Regions from separate parts of the Homo sapiens genome. Here regions 2, 3, 4 and 5 are each linked to region 1. The links are contacts of gene promoters, found by promoter capture Hi-C in blood cells and fetal thymus (Javierre and others, 2016). All regions are on one chromosome and are shown on one strand. Each heading gives the region's core, a stretch centred on a gene start or on the middle of the fragment in contact. The rest is flanking DNA. Distances are from core to core; before and after follow the strand shown. Region 1 holds the start of H3C8 (H3 clustered histone 8). Region 2 holds the start of LINC01012 (long intergenic non-protein coding RNA 1012). Region 3 has its middle 9.5 kb from the start of TRQ-CTG6-1. Region 4 has its middle 12 kb from the start of TRV-AAC1-5. Region 5 has its middle 3.2 kb from the start of TRS-AGA2-4.

The links. The method cuts DNA at HindIII sites, captures the fragments that hold promoters and counts their contacts. A CHiCAGO score of 5 or more calls a contact.
Region 2: a contact is called between a fragment that was not itself captured here and the fragment with the promoter of H3C8 in region 1, in 1 of 17 cell types (non-activated CD4 T cells). The highest score is 5.1, in non-activated CD4 T cells.
Region 3: a fragment that was not itself captured here is called in contact with the fragment with the promoter of H3C8 in region 1 in 1 of 17 cell types (M0 macrophages); the score reaches 6.4 in M0 macrophages.
Region 4: a fragment that was not itself captured here is called in contact with the fragment with the promoter of H3C8 in region 1 in 1 of 17 cell types (non-activated CD4 T cells); the score reaches 5.4 in non-activated CD4 T cells.
Region 5: a contact is called between a fragment that was not itself captured here and the fragment with the promoter of H3C8 in region 1, in 1 of 17 cell types (naive B cells). The highest score is 5.1, in naive B cells.

What each region holds. Positions count from the first base shown.
Region 1 is chr6:26,270,050-26,272,749 of GRCh38, forward strand. H3C8 (H3 clustered histone 8) reads right to left here and starts at 1,364. Exons shown (of 1, transcript NM_003534.3): 1 at 869-1,364. The coding sequence starts at 1,335. The coding sequence ends at 925. It also overlaps the pseudogene H2AC10P. RefSeq lists enhancers at 266-405, 2,133-2,472. The HindIII fragment of the contact is 12,049 bases long and covers 765-2,700 here.
Region 2 is chr6:27,693,832-27,696,531 of GRCh38, forward strand. It overlaps LINC01012 (long intergenic non-protein coding RNA 1012), which reads left to right and starts at 204. Exons shown (of 4, transcript NR_038294.1): 1 at 204-675. The HindIII fragment of the contact is 2,198 bases long and covers 248-2,445 here.
Region 3 is chr6:27,780,617-27,783,316 of GRCh38, forward strand. It overlaps the pseudogene RSL24D1P1. Among named protein-coding and RNA genes, the nearest start is that of TRQ-CTG6-1, 9.5 kb to the right of the region's middle. The HindIII fragment of the contact is 1,458 bases long and covers 653-2,110 here.
Region 4 is chr6:27,764,089-27,766,788 of GRCh38, forward strand. No RefSeq gene overlaps it. Among named protein-coding and RNA genes, the nearest start is that of TRV-AAC1-5, 12 kb to the left of the region's middle. The HindIII fragment of the contact is 1,157 bases long and covers 859-2,015 here.
Region 5 is chr6:27,498,538-27,501,237 of GRCh38, forward strand. No RefSeq gene overlaps it. Among named protein-coding and RNA genes, the nearest start is that of TRS-AGA2-4, 3.2 kb to the right of the region's middle. The HindIII fragment of the contact is 178 bases long and covers 1,239-1,416 here.

The DNA.
Region 1 (2,700 bases), core at 114-2,613:
TTCCCATGTGACTGTAATGTTACATTGAGAAAACTGATCTGTAAAGAAATCAAACTATTTTAGGGGATTGTTCTGTGCACTTGCTTTAGAGAACATTTCATAGAATATTTCATTCTGTAACATAAATAAACATGCATTTTGCAAAAGCTCACTCCTTGTAAGAGTTCACAGGCAGGATGCCTTTACTGATGAGACCAAAACCAACAACCTAGGCTTCCTAAATCAGTGTTCATGAGAATCATCTGAGGTATATGCAGATTGACTCCAGCCCTAGATGGGGATTGAAACAAGCTCCCATGTAATGCCCTGGGAGCTTCTAACAAGTTCCCACGTAATGCCCATGCTGCCAGTAATGTAGAGGCCAATCTGGCTTTCGTTTCTGCCGCCAATTTCTAATATTGAATTAAAAAATGGATCATTTCACAGAAAAACCAAGAACTGTTTAAAAAAAGGGGGAATTGTGGAAATAGCTGCTTCAGACACGAAAAAGCAGCAACCAAGGATATCCCTACCTACTCTCAACTGCCAATGCTCATACCTGTAAAGTTTTAAAAGGGATTAACCAGAAATACACAACGAAAAAAAATCCCATCTATAATGGGTGTAAGTAGACAACGCGACTAACGCTTGAGACAATGTATATAAACGCCCCCAGGTGGCCCCTTCCACTACCAAATCGAAGCTCCAAACCCCTAAAAGCCAGTTTAGAAAAGGACGCTGACAATCTGGCACTTTCGGGAAAAAGCACGGGAACAAATATAGCAAGCTTACCATTAACTTTAGCCAATCAAATGAGGACTTAAGTACTAAAACCAATGTTTAGTTTCAAAGATTTGATTAGTTAATCACAGCTATTTTCGGGTGAAAGTAGGCGGCTCTTAAAAGAGCCTTTTTAAGTTGGATAGAATTACTGCCCGGAAACCTCTACGCTCTCTCCCCACGAATGCGGCGAGCGAGCTGAATGTCCTTGGGCATGATAGTCACTCGCTTAGCATGGATGGCACACAGGTTGGTATCCTCAAAGAGCCCCACCAAGTAGGCCTCGCAGGCCTCCTGCAGGGCCATCACCGCGGAACTCTGAAAGCGCAGATCTGTCTTGAAGTCCTGAGCGATTTCTCGCACCAGGCGTTGGAAAGGCAACTTGCGGATCAGCAGCTCAGTCGACTTCTGATAGCGGCGAATCTCGCGCAGAGCCACGGTGCCGGGACGGTAGCGATGAGGTTTCTTCACGCCGCCGGTGGCCGGCGCGCTTTTCCGAGCCGCCTTAGTGGCCAGCTGCTTGCGCGGCGCTTTGCCACCGGTGGACTTGCGTGCAGTCTGCTTGGTGCGGGCCATCTCAGACTACCTGAAAGAAAAACTCAGCCACTTGGCAGAGTGGAAACTGCCCTTATATATACTCAGAAACATTCTAATTGGCCTTGTTGATTTTCAAAAGACCCGCGCAACAAAACCATTGGCTGAAGAGTCCAACGATGTGATTGGTGAATTACTGGAAAATCTGATTGGATGAATCACTTCATTTTTGAATCCTCTCTTCTCGGTTAGTCTGCGATCCAAGAACGTTAACTTCTTAAAGTTCTAATTCTGCGCTTCTCAAGCTGTAGTCCGTAAACGACTACTTTAAGACTTGGAAGACGCTAATTCTCATTCAGTAGATGTGTTGTGGGGCCAGATTCGGAGGACCACGTTTTGAGAAGTTTATCTTGTGCCGTTTTCTTGAGTCACCTGGACTGCTGCTAGCTGGAAACCTTTGACCATTATAAGGCAGGATTCCTGGGTGATGTACCTGGGAAATCACGAGCCAAGAAGTCACCGACATACAACAGTGAGCAACAAATGTTAACTGAATTCTATTTTGTCCCAAATGGTGTTTTGCTTCGGTTGAGAATTTTTAAGGCACAGGCTAATTTTAGGTTTTCCAACGACTCTTATCATTTACTTTTCGTTGGGTCCTATTGATGATATTCCAGGATACCACCCCCACTAGCCTCTTCTGCAGGATAACTTGAACACTGCAGTGGCCCTGTCCATCTAAACTTTACAAGGTTTTGTAAACGTTACTGAACTTGCTTCTTCCCGACTACATTAAAGCACTTACTTGAGATATTAAACATTTTCTCATTAGTCCTGTTTGCCTAGTCAGTCACTTGTATAGACAGGGCAACAGCACGGCCTGAATATTGGGCAGGACACCGCCCTGCGCGATAGTAACTTTGCCCAACAGCTTGTTGAGCTTCTCGTCGTGGATGGCGAGCTGCAGGCGTCGGGGGGTGACGCGGGTCTTCTTGTCTCGGGCCGCGTTGCCCGCCAACTCCAGGATCTTGGCGGTCAGGTACTCCAGCACCGCCTCCAGGTACACCGGCGCACCGGCCCGGACCCGCTTGGCGTAGTTGCCCTTGCGGAGGAGGCGGTGCACTCGGCCCACAGAAAACTGGAGACCAGCCCTGGAAGAGTGCGTTTTAGCCTTGGCGCGAGCTTTGCTGCCCTGCATTCCACATCCAGACGCAGTGAAGTATTTAAATACTTGTTTAGAAGAAGGAAAGTGATTGATTCTAGTAAAACGCAAGAGCTAAACTCTTATAATCTATATTCGGCAAAGTAGACTGTGCTATCTCCTGAACACAGATTTCAGCCAATCGAAAAGCAGGTGTTTAAAAAAATTTAAAAAAAAAAAAAAAAAAAAAACCACTTCTGACTTAC
Region 2 (2,700 bases), core at 97-2,596, 1.4 Mb after region 1:
GATGCACTGTACTATTCTGTCTACCTTTGTATATATACTTTAAAGGTTTTTCCCCACAATTTCTCTGGGAAACCTGAACCTTTCTTCCCCGTGTGTTTAGAAGGGAAGGTGAGGAGAGTCAAAGGCACATGGAGCATTAACAGTTGGAATAAACGACAGAGACACGGAAACCTCCGAGGTTTCCAGAGCGGACCCGGAAATGACGCCAGGGGATGCAAACCCTTCTGCCCCTTTTTGCTACCCCTGAAGCTTACTGTTAGTGGTCGAGTTTTTCTGGAAGTGGGCTTCCGCGATCGCGGGGACCAACGCCCTGAGCTCTTGTGCCCAAAGGGGATCGCCAGGTTTTTTGATGCGGATCGAAAGGGACTGGCCCCGGAGCCTACAACCTGACGCAGGTGGGACTTGGGGAAATGTCGAGAAACCTAGGTCTGGGACTTGAGTTGGCTTCCAGGGCACACATTCTTGTTCAGAAGAAACACATTGCAAAAATCGGGAGGTGACGGGCAGATGAAGTGTCGGCGCTTCGCCTCGGGACTCCAGTGCAACCTATGGGGCTTTTGGAAATGAGGAAGTCGATGACTCTGCAGGGACTCCTCTGACCCAGGAGCAGATGGCGCTCGTCTGGGCACTCCCCAGGAGAAAAGGTGCATCGGGAAGCAGCCTGGCTTGTGGATGGTAATAAGTCACTGTTGATGGGTTGGGTGCAGGGAGGGATTTAAGTTCTTGAGCGACAGATGCTAGGGAGTTTACCTGCTCTGGATAACAGTATCTTGTGGAGGATAGTCACCTGGAAAACAGAAATGGCGTGACTGTGTTGAATACACTGTTTGATGATTCTGGGCATCAGGTGAATAGGAAATGTGTAACGTTATGGATGAGTGTGTGCTCATCGGACAGTAGCAGTGCATCTTAACAGTCGGCCTCTCAGTCCTCCTCTTCCTTAGAATCACCTATAGAGCTTTAAAATTTCCTGGATAATGTTAATGTGCAGCCAGCGATGATGACCATTGGGCTACAGTCAAATCCAAGAGGCGCATCTCATCCTTTGTTCTGATGGACAGAAACCATTATTCTGACATCGTGCCTGTTGGAGACATTGTACCTTAACTAGCATTTAATTCATGTGTGCTGGATTCGCTGAATGAAACTTACCAGCAGGGTACTGAATCTTGAATAATACAAGGAACGAGTAGAATAAGATAGTTCTCATTTTATCCTTATCTAATCTAAGAAATCTAGCAATATTTCTCTGTTTAAGTTTTTTTTCTTCAACAAAAAACAAAATACATGTAAGAGGATTTTCTGACACTGCTGGGGGCTCATAGAATTCTAGTGTCTAGTGTCTTTTCTGTCAGTTAATGTTACAAAGTTCAGTGGTGCTCCTTTTTTGAGATGGTGTCTAGCTCTGTCACTCAGGCTGGAGTGAAGTGGTGCCAACTTGGCTCACTGCATCCTCTGCTTCCCGGGTTCAAGCGATTCTCCTGCCTCAGCCTCCCAAGTAGTTAGGATTTCAGGTGTGTGCCACAACGCCCAGCTACTTAGTAGAGCCGAGGTTTCCCCATGTTGGCCAGGCTGGTCTCGAACTCCTGACCTCAAGTGATCCACACATCTCGGCTTCCCATAGTGCTGGGATTACAGTTGTGATGATCTTAAAACCTCTAACGATTTGGAAATATTCCTCCAGTGATCTTTGTTCTGTCGCAGTGATTGTAATAACATTTATTGAGGAGTTGTATGCCCAGTACTATTAAATAGGTTTACAAATTTTGTTATTTAATCCTCACAACTCTGTTAGAGAGATTGGATATTTTTATATCCATTTAACCACAGTAAAGCTGAGGCTTAGAGGATTTAACCTGGTAATAAGTCCAACATCCCACAACTAGTAAGTGACAGAACCAAGGATTTTCATTCATGTCTGTATAACATAAAAGCCTGTGTTTTATACTTTTTTTTTTTTTTTTTTTTTTTGAGATGAAGTCTCGCTCTTGTCTCCCAATCTGGAGTACAATGGCGCGATCTTGGCTCACCGTAACCTCTGCCTCCCAGGTTCAAGCGATTCTCCTGCCTCAGCCTCCTGAGTAACTGGGATTACAGGTGTGTACCACCACGCCCAGCTAATTTTTTGTATTTTAAGTAGAGACGGGGTTTCACCATGTTGGCCATACTGGTCTCGAACTCTTGACCTCAGGTGATCCATCCACCTCGGCCTTCCAAAGTGCTGGGATTACAGGTGTGAGCTACCGCGCCCAGCCATGTGTTTTTTACTTTTTAGTCAATGGGGCACTTCAGATTACAAGATCTGTGACCCCCCCACAACCATTCCATGAACTATTGGTTCAGCATATAAGAGGACCCGTTTTCTGCCATTTCCTGCATGATGCCTCTAGCAAGCATTGCAATCACAAAGACCTGGGTTTTTAAAATTATTACAAAGAAAAGGAAAGCTTCAGTAGTATGTTGATTAAAGGAATGTCTAGAAAAGGGGAATGGGATATGAGAACCAGGTTACACCAAATTGACAGTTTATGAAAAAATAGTAACCAAGAATATGATACTAATTTTGACTAATTGGTTTTGAATAGACATGGCTTTATTCATTTAAGACAAGCATCTCCATATTTGTGGAGTTTATTCTAGAGGAAAATACAGTTTCTCAGGTGATGGTATTGTGGAGAAAAAGAAATCAGAGAAGGGCAA
Region 3 (2,700 bases), core at 132-2,631, 1.5 Mb after region 1:
TTTTTAAGATGTGTTTTCCATGCCTACATGCTCTTGTAACTGCTGTACCATTTTCTCTTCCAGCTGCTTCTCTTTGCCTGCAAGAGGGGCTTGAATAAGATGGATGTTTTGCTTGACTTCTTTGATATCCTGAACTTTCTGTAGCTCTTTATTTTTATTCAGTCTGTTCATTATAAATTTAGCTTGGCATTTCTGTTTGATTTCTTCAATTTGCTTCATTGCATCAATAGTTTTATTCCATAGCTCTCGCTGGTATTTGATAGGTTCATTTCTACGTTTTTCAAATTCAAATGAATTATCCACTGTAAGCTCTTTACCAGCTGCATTCTGGAATGCTTTGATCCACCTAGCTTTGCGAGGACTGCACTTCTTTTAAAAGTTTTTATGACATTTAGATTTACAAAATCTGAACAACTTGCAATTGTTGTGGACGAACATCATGCCGTGACCAGGGTAGATGGGCCCTGAACAGAAATAACACTTCTCAATACACATGTTGAACCCACGTGGGTCCCCACCAAGCAAACACCAAGCTTGAGAGCTCATTTGTTATTTTCAGTGCATGTTTTCTGGTTGTATAAAAGGTTTCCTATGCAAGAGGGCTGATGTTATAACAGTAGATTACTACAGTGTATTTTCAACAGGCAAAGAAAGCTTTTTATGATTTGAATCTTCTAGAAGCATCAGAGAAAGACTGTTCTTGCCATTCACACTACAACAAAACTTTGGGATCTTGAACTTTGAGTTCATAATCTCACAACTGAGAAGGGTCCCTCCAAGCTCTTGGAGCTGTGTGCCCACTGGAACCCTTAAGGTAAAATTAACCAAAGAAATTTCTCCCAAGAGGAGAATGGCATCCTTACTATGAACAGCTTTTCTCACGTTCACAGATTAAGACTTCTACTGTCGTGAAACTTATCTTCGAATATTTTTTGTTGCTTATGCCTCTACAAAAAAATAGAAGTGGAAAAGGTGTCTGTTATGTGCACTTATGGTGTATACTCTTACTTGCGAAGGAGTTTGTAACCAGCTTTTTAAATGGGTAAACTTATACTTTGATAGATAAAAGATGAAGGCCCAATGTAGGTAAGAAACTTTAAAGGTACATGCTTTGCCTCATAATCAAAAACAAAACATTGGTTCACTCCTCTTAACCCACATCATGGGTTAAAGAGAACATTGCCAGAAGGCCTTCACTCTTCTAAAAAGGCATCATTTGTTAGGTCCTTTTTCCATGGTTTAAAGAAAAAGAAGCAATGATTAGAAATATATCCCTCACAATAGGTTCTATAGCAAATTCTACTGTAAAGGCTATAGTTACACAATAGACTCTAAATTACCTTGTGAAAGTTATGATAGAATTGGCTAAACAGAGAAGTATCTGTGCAGCTGCTGGCACTTGTGGCCTATGGAAAAATACGTCAAATGAAGATTACAGAAATTCAGTGGTAGAGGATTGACAAAGAAATTGCTAAGTCAAGTGAGTAAATTCTTTATCTAGCTGATCCTTTGATCTATTTGATTTTAAGAGGTTTGGTTTATGGGGACCTTGGGTAAGGAGCACACTCCAAACTCTTGGTATCATCCTCCCAATAGTCATAATAATAGTCTCCCTGGTGCACTGCATTCCCTCGAAGGTTTTAAATGCTTGCATGTAGCCATCTCCAGAATGTCAAATGGTCTTTCTTCAGCTGGAATAACAAGAGCTGAAGGAAATGTGCAACCATGAGGACCCCTTAACCTATGAATGATGTGCTGAGACCAGAAGCCCAAAATGATGGTAACTGAGAGCAGCACTAAGGCCCTAAGTTTTGGTTACACTCTCACCTGAGAACCTGACCAAAAAGGGGAAATTTTTTTAACAAAATTCTGGAAGGCCATTGTTTCGGACTAGGCTTATGCACTAGGCCCCAACAAACCAAACCAAACCAAAAGGGAGTCACTTCTGCTAAGACTTTAAGGAAACACATAGATTTCTAGAACAAACCAGGTTTTGTTTTTTCTCCTGCAAACCTCTATAACAAACATTTCTGAGAGCATAGGTATCCACCCCCGAAGTTCCCATTAAATCTTTTAACCAAATTCATTTCCTCTTGCTTAGAAATCATCAAGCTTCAGATGATCATGAAACAAAGGTTCCAGCCACCTCCATGTGAAGACACCACCCCTGGCCATCAAGAAGCTACCTTGCCTTCACTAGACAGAACAGGGAGAGAGTTCCATGATCCACAATAGGTAGGGACTACGCCCCAAGGTAGCATGAAGCAGTTACAGAAAAAAGACCATCAGTCCCTCTGCCTCCCATAAAGATTTATGGGGATCACATCTCTCAGGGAGGAAATGAGACAGGAAAATAAGGTCTGGAGGCAGGGAACATAAGGCCAATTCATACTTCAGCTATAAAAGGAAATATCCTCTCCATAGGGCATATGCTGTAAATGACTTTGTAACTTTACCTCATCCTGTCTGTTTATATAGGGCTTCCGAAGTAACAAATAAGAATTCTCTAGGGGTTAAACTCCTGAAAATTCTGTAACGGGGCCTTTGAGCCCCTAGGTTCAGGTCCACTCCCACACTGTGGAGTGTACTTTCATTTTCAATAAAACCCTTAATTCCTTCATTGCTTTGTTTGTGAGTTTTGTCCAATTCTTCGTTTAAGACGCCAGAACCTGCACACCCTCCACCGTTAACAGTTACCTA
Region 4 (2,700 bases), core at 187-2,686, 1.5 Mb after region 1:
AGGTGAGACATAAGGAATTTGGTAAAATATCGAGGGTGATCAGACCAAGGGTGGAGAATTTTCATTAAACTTAGCAGGATTCTTGCTAAAACTAGAATAAGTGAACCAAAGAAAAAACCCAAGGTCTGGGCTTTCAGTACTTATAAAGGAGGCTGACTAGAGTTGGGTCAAGAAGGTCTTTGTCACTTTAGGCAAGTAACTGAGTTTCCTTTAATGGTGGCAATCTCAACATTCCCTTGGAAAATAAATCCACATCTGAAATGTGAGTGAATTTGGATAAATCATATTCAGAAATCAGACACCCATTGACTCGCAGCTGCTCCAGTATGTGAGAGCTGTCAACAAGGACATGTGCAAGTGGTGTTATACCCTCCTCTTAGGCCTAATCTCCCAGTGAGGTTGGGGATGAACAGGGGCCCAGTCATCTGTTTGCAGAAATGAAACCCCAGGGTGCAGTCAGAGAGACTTTTCCTACGCTATTTCGTGGTACTTTGCGCCATTATCATTCCGTGGGTTCGGTCCTCCAGGCCATGCCTGAATATAAGGTTCTCACTTGCCTGGCCCTCATCTGATTAAGGACAGAAGTACAGGGTCCTTCTTTCTGATCCACTCAGGTCTTTAAAGTTCAAGCTAAAAACTCTTTCCCGGAGAATGCCTCCAAGTGCCCCCCAGCATGGGGGCAAAGAGCAGTTTAATGTACAAGGGGTGAGAAAGAGGGTGGGGAGAGGAGAAATTGCCTCCCCAATCTCTCCTTCCCCATGGAGTCCCTTCTGCGTCCTCACTCCTGGCATTGGAGACCAAGGGGACAGAAGCTGAGATAGGGCCCTGGATTGCCTTCCCTAAAAAGATGTCCTTCAAAGCTTTGCCCAGCATATCCTGTTGCCCCTGAGGTATATAACCCAGGGTGGGTTACCTTTCAGGGTCCCTTAGCTGTGGTACAAATGAGGACCATGCAGTGGAGACTCCATCCACCCTGACAGTTTTCTTGAACCTTGGGGGACTGGCTTGCTGTGCATCTTAGGCTTCTGTTGTCTCTTACTGCCTATCTGTGAACAATAAACCTGATTCATATAACTTGTGGCATGTGAATGTATTCTGTCTCATCTGACTGAGGCAAATAGTAAAACTGCAGCCCAGGATGCTGTGGGTGGAAATGTTCTGATTCCTGGTGGTTAGCATAGTAATGATTTTTGCTATTCTTCCCTCAGTGAGAGTTCTCCTTTGGGATTGGTAATTAGTGATCCTGCTTCATAAAATTGGTATAGCAGCACAGTCTGGTCTGACAGAACCATGACTTATGGGCTAAGAGGGAGGGGCAATGTCCTTCAGTACCCAGTCCAGGGAAGAGAGGTCAGTCTGGGGGTGCAGGAGCCAGACATGCTGCAGGATGTTTTATGGGGAAGGAGGAATGATAAGTGGGACATATGTCACCTCCCCACAGATGTGAATGAGCTGGCTGCATGGATTGAGGCAGAGAGAAAGGAATGTGGAAACAGAGGAGTGTGAAACTCTGTCCCCTAGCTTTGGGACACATATGTGATTGCTCATTCCCCAGGATGGAGATCTTGGGAAATGGACACTCAGACGCTAAGACACCCAAGAGGTTATAAGAAAAGTCTCTGAGGCACTTAAGAAGGAATAAATGTGCATGATGCAGCCCGTCTTTACCCAGCAGTGCAAGAATGTTGGGGTAGCTCAGCAAGAAACCATCAAAATGCTCTCCTTCACAGAAAGACAAATTAGTGATCTCAAGGACAGCTATGGGCAAAAACCAAGAGAAGACATGTTTTCTTGGCTATCTCAGGTAGTTGATGAGGAGTGACAGAACATTCTGCTGTCATGAAAAGAATGGCACAGCCTGGGTAGATTGGCTCACAACCCAGTGTTGCAGCAGATGTTCAGGGTGATCCAACAAGCTACAGGTGTAGATCACCACGCCCACAAGCTGGAATCTTTACTTATTTGGTTGGTGTCTAGCATTCTAGGCTCTTTTCCCATCCAGGGTGGTTTGCCTAAGCTTCCATTGTGCCCTTGGCAGTCAGGACATGAGGCTGGCACAGCCTTGTGCAGGGTGGCCCCGGGCTCATGGCTATCCAACCTCCAGAAGGGGGAATTGGATGATACAATACTGTTTAGATGCAATATTGATGACTTCATAGAGCAGGGCCCTTGGCCCTGGCATAATCAATTGATTTTATTTCTTCCCCTTGGAATAGCCTTTGGCAAGGCCATCGAAAAGCTGTATCGTACTCTGCTAGCCTGGCAGCAGAATGGGGGTCAAATTTGACAAATTTAATCTGACAATTAAATACAAAAGGCTAACTTGGGAGGGGGCAATCCAAGGGCTGGTAGTGGGGCAGCCTCCAAGTGCCCCCACTCCACAGACTGTGGATCTGACTGACGCAGCAGGGGGTTCCTAAATAAGAGATTGATGGCCTCCCCCCATCTGATACATGCTATCAGAACCAATCAGAGGGAGGCCCTTGCAGTTCACAGAATCAACAGGTGCCAACCATGCAGGAGGAGTACTGGGAAAGGGAAGTCTATAGACAAGTGGAAACATTGGCACCCCCTTTAGCCTCTCTGGGAGAGTCATCTTCCCTGGCCCTAACACAAGTTCTCTGTACCCACACCTTTTTAAACTGAAACAGGTGTGGAACCAAGGTCTCCACTGGCCTCAGCCTGGCCCTCTGACCCTGC
Region 5 (2,700 bases), core at 78-2,577, 1.2 Mb after region 1:
CCCCACAGTCTTTATAACGCTGAAGCTTGAAGTGCATCCCAGTGGTTCTGCTTCTTTTATTGAATCTTGACTGCTACATATCAATGACTCAACTAAATGATCAAAAACTTGAATAAACATTTTATAAAAGAAGATATCCATGTAACTAATAACCAATTATTTTTCATGGACCTGTTGCAATTGTTGACTCTCACAATGTTAATTATGAATAAAATTAGGTGCAGTAAAGTGTATAGTCAAGAAAAGGATCATGGAGGAAGAGGATCAGTAAACACAACTCAAAGGAAAGGATGATATCCCACCAGGATTAAAGTGAAATTGGTCATTTTAAGACCAGTGCCAAAAGGACTCCTGTTTCTTCCCCATGGTAAAGTAATAGAAACCAGACTTACCCTACCACCTTAAACAACTGGAAAACTGTACAAAGTATATATAACAATTTTCTTCAGATAGACAATAGGCAGTGACTAATTTTGATACCTGGGAAAAGGGAAAAAATGAGAAAGAAATTGCCCTATTTACTGCCTATAATCAGATTAAGAGGAACATTTAATAATGATAAAGAGGTCAATGCACCAAGAAGCCGCCACAACAACCCTACATGTATGCACCTACAAATAGTGCTTCAAAATATGTGTAGCAAAACCTACTAAACTGCAAGGAGAAATAGAAAAATTACTCAAATATAGTTGGAAATTATATTTTTTATTATTTATTTATTTATTTATTTATTTTTTGAGACAGTCTTGCTCTGTACCCTGGCTGGAGCACAGTGGTGCCATCTCGGCTCACTGCAACCTCCGCCTCCCGGGTTCAAGTGATTCTCCTGCCTCAGCCTCCTGAGTAGCTGGGATTACAGGTGCCCACCACCACACCCAGCTAATTTTTGTATTTTTAGTAGAGACGGGATTTCACTATGTTGGTCAGGCTGGTCTCAAATTCCTGACCTCAGGTGATCCACCCCCCTTGGCCTCCCAAAGTGCTGGGATTACAGGCGTGAGCCACTGAGCCAGGCTAATAGTTGGAAATTTTAACACTTCTTTCTCAGTAATTGATAGAACAAGTAGTCTGAAAATTCAGTACGAATACAGAAGATTTGAACCACATTACCACAAATTTGACCTCATTAACATTTATATAACGCTTTTCTCAGCAATAACAGAAAACTTTCTTTTCAAGCGCTCATAGAATACTTACCAAGACAGACCTTATTTTGGACTAAAAAATAAGTCACAGTAAGCTTAAAAGGACTGAAATTACAGAAAGTATATTTTGTGACCACAACAGAATTAAACCAGAAATCAATTAACAGAAATTAAACAAAATAATCTAAAACCAAATAATATATCACAAGGGAAATTTAAATTATTTTGAACTAAATAAAAATGGTAACAAAATATAACAAAATGCAGCTAAAGCTTTTCATAGGAAAAAAGCTTTTATAGAAAAAAGAAAAAAAGCTTATTATGAAAAAAGTGGTCAGGTGCTGTGGCTCATGCTTGTAATCCCAGCACTTTGAGGGGCTGAGGCAGGAGGAGTGCTTGAGCCCAGGGATTTGAGACCAGCCTGGGCAGCATGGTGAGACCCCATCTCTACCAGAAGAACAGGAAAACAGGAAAGAAAGAAAGAAAGAGAGAGAGAGAGAGAAAGAAAGAAAGAAAGAGAAAGAAAGAGAAAGAAGGAAAGGAAGGAAGGAAGGGAAGGAAGGAGAGAGAAGGAAGGAAGGAAAGAAAGGAAGAAAAGAAAAGAGAAGGAGGGAAGGAGGGATGGAAAGAAGGGAGGGAGGGAGAGAGAGAGAAAGAAAGGTCGGAGGGAGGGAAGGAAGGGAGGGAGAGAGAGAAAGAAAGGTCAGAGGGAGGGAAGGAAGGGAGGGAGGGAGAGAGAGAGAGAAAGAGAGAGAGAAAGGGAGAGAGGAAGGAAGGAAGAGAGGGAGGGAGGGACAAGCCAGGTTGGTGGCTGGCGGGTGACTGCAGTCCCAGCTACTCAGGAGGCTGAGGTGGGAAGAATGCTTGAGCTGGAGAAGTGGAGGCTGCAGCAAGCAGAAATCGTGCCACTACACCCCAGCTGCTCCCCAGCCTGGGTGACAGAGCCAGACCCTTAAAAAAAAAAAAAGTGTCAATCAATCATCTATAGTTTCACCTTAACAAACGAGAAAAATAAGAGTAAATTAAATTCAAAGTAAGTGGAAGAGAACAAATATTAAAGAGCAAAAGAGAATGAAATAGAAAAACAATAGAGAAGATCAATGAAATCTAAAAACCAGTGCTTTGAAAAGATGAATAATATTGATAAATCTCCAGTCGGACTGCTCAGAAAATAAATGTAGCAGGAAAGAAACAGGGGACATTTACCTAGATTATACAAAAAATAAAAGAATATTTTGGATAATATGCCAATTAATTTGACAAATTAGATGAAATATATCAATTTCTCAAAAGGTAGAAACTACTAAAACCCACTCAAGAAATAATCTGAATTGTAATATAACTGTTAAAAATATAATTTATAATTAAAAACCTCTCTAAAAGAAAAATCCAGGCCTAGATGGCTTCATTGGTGGAGTCTACCAAACCTTTAAAGAGGAAATAATATCATGTGTACATAAACTTTTCCAGAAACTGGAAAAGTAGAGAACACTTTCCTACTCATTTTATGAATTGAATATTAGTTGATATCAAAACTTGGGAGGGATGAAGGGAA